Linked DNA regions of Homo sapiens: region 1 is linked to region 2. Evidence: promoter capture Hi-C in human tissues and cell types (Jung and others, 2019). All regions are on one chromosome and are shown on one strand. The core of a region is centred on a gene start or on the middle of the fragment in contact, and the rest is flanking DNA. Distances in the headings are between cores, read along the strand shown. Region 1 has its middle 220 kb from the start of TRPA1. Region 2 holds the start of TERF1 (telomeric repeat binding factor 1).

Region 1 (2,700 bases), core at 187-2,686, 720 kb before region 2:
CATCTGTACGTCACCATCATCAAAGACCAAAGGTAGATAAAACCACAAAGATGGGGAATAAACAGAGCAGAAAAGCCGAAAATTTTAAAAATCAGAGTCCCTCTCCCCCTCCAAAGGAACACAGCTCCTCACCAGCAACAGAACAAAGCTGGATGGAGAATGACTTTGACAAGTTGAGAGAAGAAGGCTTCAGAAGATCCAACTTCTCCGAGCTAAAGGAGGAAGTTCGAACCCATTGCAAAGAAGCTAAAAACCATGAAAAAAGACTGGACGAATGGCTAACTAGAATAACGAATGTAGAGAAGTCCTTAAATGACCTGATGGAGCTGAAAAACATGGCATGAGAACTATGTGACGAATGCACAAGCTTCAGTAGCCGATTCAATAAACTGGAAGAAAGAGTATCAGTGATGGAAGATCAAATGAGTGAAATGAAGTGAGAAGAGAAATTTAGGGAAAAAAGAGTAAAAAGAAACCAAAAAAGCCTCCAAGAAATATGGGACTATGTGAATAGACCAAATCTATGTCTGATTGGTGTACCTGAAAGTGACGGGGAGAATGGAACCAAGTTGGAAAACACTCTGCAGGATATTATCCAGGAGAACTTCCCCAACCAGCAAGGTAGGCCAACATTCAAATTCAGGAAATACACACAACGCCACAAAGATACTCCTCAAGAAGAGCAACTCTAAGACACATAATTGTCAGATTCAACAAAGTTGAAATGAAGGAAAAAATGTTAAGGGCAGCCAGAGAGAAAGGTCGGGTTACCCACAAAGGGAAGCCCATCAGACTAACAGCAGAACTCTCAGCAGAAACTCTACAAGCCAGAAGAGAGTGGGGCCAATATTCAACGTTCTTAAAGAAAAGAATTTTCAACCCAGAATTTCATATCCAGCCAAACTAAGCTTCATAAGTGAAGGAGAAATAAAATACTTTACAGATAAGCAAATGCTGAGAGATTTTGTCACCACCAGGCATGCCCTACAAGAGCTCCTGAAGGAAGCACTAAACATGGAAAGGAATAACTGGTACCAGCCACTGCAAAAACATGCCAAACTGTGAAGACCATCCCTACAAGAGCTCCTGAAGGAAGCACTAAACATGGAAAGGAATAACTGGTACCAGCCACTGCAAAAACATGCGAAACTGTGAAGACCATCGATGCTATGAAGAAACTGCATCAACTAACGAGCAAAATAACCAGCTAACATCATAACGACAGGATCAAATTCACACATAACAATATTAACCTTAAATGTAAATGGGCTAAATGTTCCAATTAAAAGACACAGACTGGCAAATTGGATAAAGAATCAAGACCCATCAGTGTGCTATATTCAGGAAACCCATCTCACATGCAGAGACACACATAGGCTCAAAATAAATGGATGGAGGAAGATCTACCAAGCAAATGGAAAACATAAAAAGGCAGGGGTTACAATCCTAGTCTCTGATAAAACAGACTTTAAACCAACAAAGATCAAAAGAGACAACGAAGGCCATTACATAATGGTAAAGGGATGAATTCAACAAGAAGAGCTAACTATCCTAAATATATATGCACCCAATACAGGAGCACACAGATTCATAAAGCAAGTCCTTAGAGACATACAAACAGACTTAGACTACCACACAATAATAATGGGAGACTTTAACACCCCGCTGTCAACATTAGACAGATCAACGACACAGAAAGTTAACAAGGATATCCAGGAATTGAACTCAGTTCTGCACCAAGCGGACCTAATAGACATCTACAGAACTCTCCAACCCAAATCAACAGAATATGCATTCTTCTCAGCACCACATCACATTTATTCCAAAATTGACTCCATAGTTGGAAGTAAAGCACTCCTCAGCATATGTAGAAGAACAGAAATTATAACAAACTGTCTCTCAGACCACAGTGCAATCAAACTAGAACTCAGGATTAAGAAACTCACTCAAAACCACTCAACTACATGGAAACTGAACAACCTGCTCCTGAATGACTACTGGGTACATAACGAAATGAAGGCAGAAATAAAGATGTTCTTTGAAACCAATGAGAACAAAGACAAAACATAACACAATCTCTGGGACACATTTAAAGCAGTGTGTAGAGGGAAATTTATAGCACTAAATGCCCACAACAGAAAGCAGGAAAGATCTAAAATTGACACCGTAACATCGCAATTAAAAGAACTAGAGACCCAAGAGCAAACACATTCAAAAGCTAGCAGAAGGCAAGAAATAACTAAGATCAGAGCAGAACTGAAGGAGACAGAGACACAAAAAACCTTTCAAAAAATCAATGAATCCAGGAGCTGGTTTTTTGAAAATATCAGCCAAATTGATAGACTGCTAGCAAGATTAATAAAGAAGAAAAGAGAGGAGAATCAAATTGATGCAATAAAAAATGATAAAGGGGATATCACCACCGATGCCACAGAAATACAAACTACCATCAGAGAATACTATTAACACCTCTATGCAAATAAACTAGAAAATCTAGAAGAAATGGATAAATTCCTGGACACATGCACCCTACCAAGACTGAACCAGGAAGAAGTTGAATCCCTGAATAGACCAATAACAGGCTCTGAAATGGAGGCAATAATTAATAGCGTACCAACCAAAAAAAGTCCAGGACCAGATGGATTCACAGCCGAATTCTACCAGGGGTACAAGGAGGAGCTAGTTCCATTCCTTCTGGAA
Region 2 (2,700 bases), core at 125-2,624:
CCCGCCTCAGCCTCCCAAAGTGCTGGGATTACAGGTGTGAGCCACTGCGCCCGGCTGTTTTAAACTCTTTACATTTACCAAGCCCTTTAATCGTGCAGGTATTATTATTATTCACATTATACGGACAAGAAAACTGACACGTAATTTACCCAAGGTCACACAGCTAGTGAGTAACTGGTAGGGAATATTCCAACCTAAGCATTCTTAATACTAGAATACAGTGCCTTAGTTACTCAACACTTAAACTGTACCACCTTAAAGACAATAACAAGAAGTGTGTGAAAATGTGGAAAGGCTTTGATGATGCTGGATGCGTTATAAACAGAAAGGCTTTTAAAATAAACTTTTTATTCAATTATGACACACATACTGAAAAGTGCATAAACGATGTTCAGTGAATTTTCATAAAGTGAACCCACATCAAGGAACAGAAAACGGAGCCAGGCGTTGTGGCTCAGGCCTGTAAACCCAGCACTTTGGCAGGAGGATAACTTGAAGCCAGGAGTTGGAGACCAGCCTGAGCAACAGAGCGAAATCCTGTCTCAAAGGAAAAAAAAAAAACAAACAAAAAACAAAAACAATAACCAGACCACCCATCCCCATTTAGAATTTCTTTTTGTGCTAAGTTTCAAAATTCAAAATAAGCATTCACTTGTTTTCTACAAACTGCATTCTATAGTCGATCTCAAACCTTGATTGAGATACATTTCCATTATAGTATACTCTTTCTAGAGCACTGATCTCAAAATGTGGTGCCCAGCCAAGTAGCGTTGGACTTTCAAATTCAAGGATCCCAAGCTAGACCAGCAGAACAGGAATTCTGGGAGTGGAGCCCGGCAATTTGTGTTTTAGCAAGCCCCCAGGCTGATTCTGATGCATCTTAAGGTTGGAGAAGCATGGATATTGTCAGTTGTAATAGTTGTTGTTCGTGATCACGTAGTAACTGTTAGATGAAAACTAGGGTTTAAAAGTGTTACGCTTGTCTAATAGTGACAAGTTCTCATTACCCATCTCTTTCTGAAATAGGCTGCAGGCAAATGCGTTTTCATTTTAAATAACCGTGTTGTTGTTCCAGTCAAGGTTGCATTTTACAAGGAATAAGGAAGATAAAGCTGCCTCCTCCTATCCTAATCTCGCTCCTCGCTCAGTATGGAGTCGTCCGGTTTACCTACAAAGCCCTGCCCTAGACTGGCGGCAAATTCAACGCCCAGAGGCAGGAACAGGTGTCGGCCAATCAGAAGCCGGAACAGGTGTCGGCCAATCAGAAGCCAGGCTTGAACCGCTCGCCCATGTCCCGCCGGCGGAAGAGACTCTCCGCGGCCACGCCCCGAGCCCTCGAATGCGAGCCAATCGTTGCTCGGCGCCTGAAGGGGCAGTACCCAAGCGAGCCATTTAACATGGCGGAGGATGTTTCCTCAGCGGCCCCGAGCCCGCGGGGCTGTGCGGATGGTAGGGATGCCGACCCTACTGAGGAGCAGATGGCAGAAACAGAGAGAAACGACGAGGAGCAGTTCGAATGCCAGGAACTGCTCGAGTGCCAGGTGCAGGTGGGGGCCCCCGAGGAGGAGGAGGAGGAGGAGGAGGACGCGGGCCTGGTGGCCGAGGCCGAGGCCGTGGCTGCCGGCTGGATGCTCGATTTCCTCTGCCTCTCTCTTTGCCGAGCTTTCCGCGACGGCCGCTCCGAGGACTTCCGCAGGACCCGCAACAGCGCAGAGGGTGAGTGCAGACCGCGTCCGGGCCGGGACTACGCGGGGGGCGGATGCGGGCTCCGTGGTGCGCGGCAGAGGGCTGGTTCCCTACGTCGCCGAGGGAGGGGCTGCTGCGGCCGATTAGCTGGGAGTCCGAGGCTCCGGGCTGAACTTTGTTCGAATCCCGGTTCGCCCGTTGTCAGCACCTGAGTTTTTCTCAGATTGATTTCCTCTTCGATAAAATGAAAATAAGACCCTGTTTAGGTTTGATGCAAGCATTAAATGAGTTAAAATGTATACAGTTCCACTCAACCCAGTACCTTTGTCTCTTTTGGCGCTTTCTACTCAGGTATTCCTGTAGTAATATTCAGCAGTCCCTGTGGCCTCCAGTAACCCCCGAGGCATCAGTGTTTTATGTTAATTTGTGAGCTATTAAATCTCATTTGGCCTGCTGGCTCTACAGCAGTTACTTTTATTCTGTGTAGTCTCAGAATAAAAGTAAATGTTGGCCACATGCCTGCAAGTCCCAGCTACTTGGGAGCCTGAGGTGGGAGGATCGCTTGAACCCAAGAGGCAGAGGTTGCAGTGAGTCGAGATCGTGCCACTACAGTCCTGCCTGGGTAACAGAGTGATACCCTGTATGAATAAATAAATGAATGAATGAAACTGTTCATGAAATCTGCTGCACCCCGCCCCCGTCCCAAGATGGGGTCTCACTGTCACCCAGGCTGGAGAGTGTAGTGGCGCCATCACAGCTCACTGCAGGCTCGACCTCCTCAGGCTCAGGTATCCTCCCGCTTCAGCTTCTGGAGTAGCTGGGTCTGCAGGCGTGCACCACCACCCGCAGCTGTAAGATTACAGGTATGAGCCACCGCGCCTGGCCTAGTGTAGCTTTTTGAAAAACAACAGAAAGATGTTCTGGTACTTCATTCATAGTTGGCGCTAAAATTACTGTGCAAGTATATATTTATAATACTATAATTATGCTATTTAATAGAATTCTTAGACATTT

What was found. The method cuts DNA at HindIII sites, captures the fragments that hold promoters and counts their contacts. A contact is called where the count stands out against the background at its distance.
Region 1: a fragment that was not itself captured here is called in contact with the fragment with the promoter of TERF1 in region 2 in 2 of the 25 tissues and cell types used here (aorta and dorsolateral prefrontal cortex).

The regions. Positions count from the first base shown.
Region 1 is chr8:72,292,023-72,294,722 of GRCh38, forward strand. No RefSeq gene overlaps it. Among named protein-coding and RNA genes, the nearest start is that of TRPA1, 220 kb to the left of the region's middle. The HindIII fragment of the contact is 5,071 bases long and covers 1-2,700 here.
Region 2 is chr8:73,007,490-73,010,189 of GRCh38, forward strand. TERF1 (telomeric repeat binding factor 1) reads left to right here and starts at 1,375. Exons shown (of 10, transcript NM_017489.3): 1 at 1,375-1,716. The coding sequence starts at 1,398. RefSeq lists silencers at 1,141-1,240, 1,271-1,320. The HindIII fragment of the contact is 12,916 bases long and covers 1-2,700 here.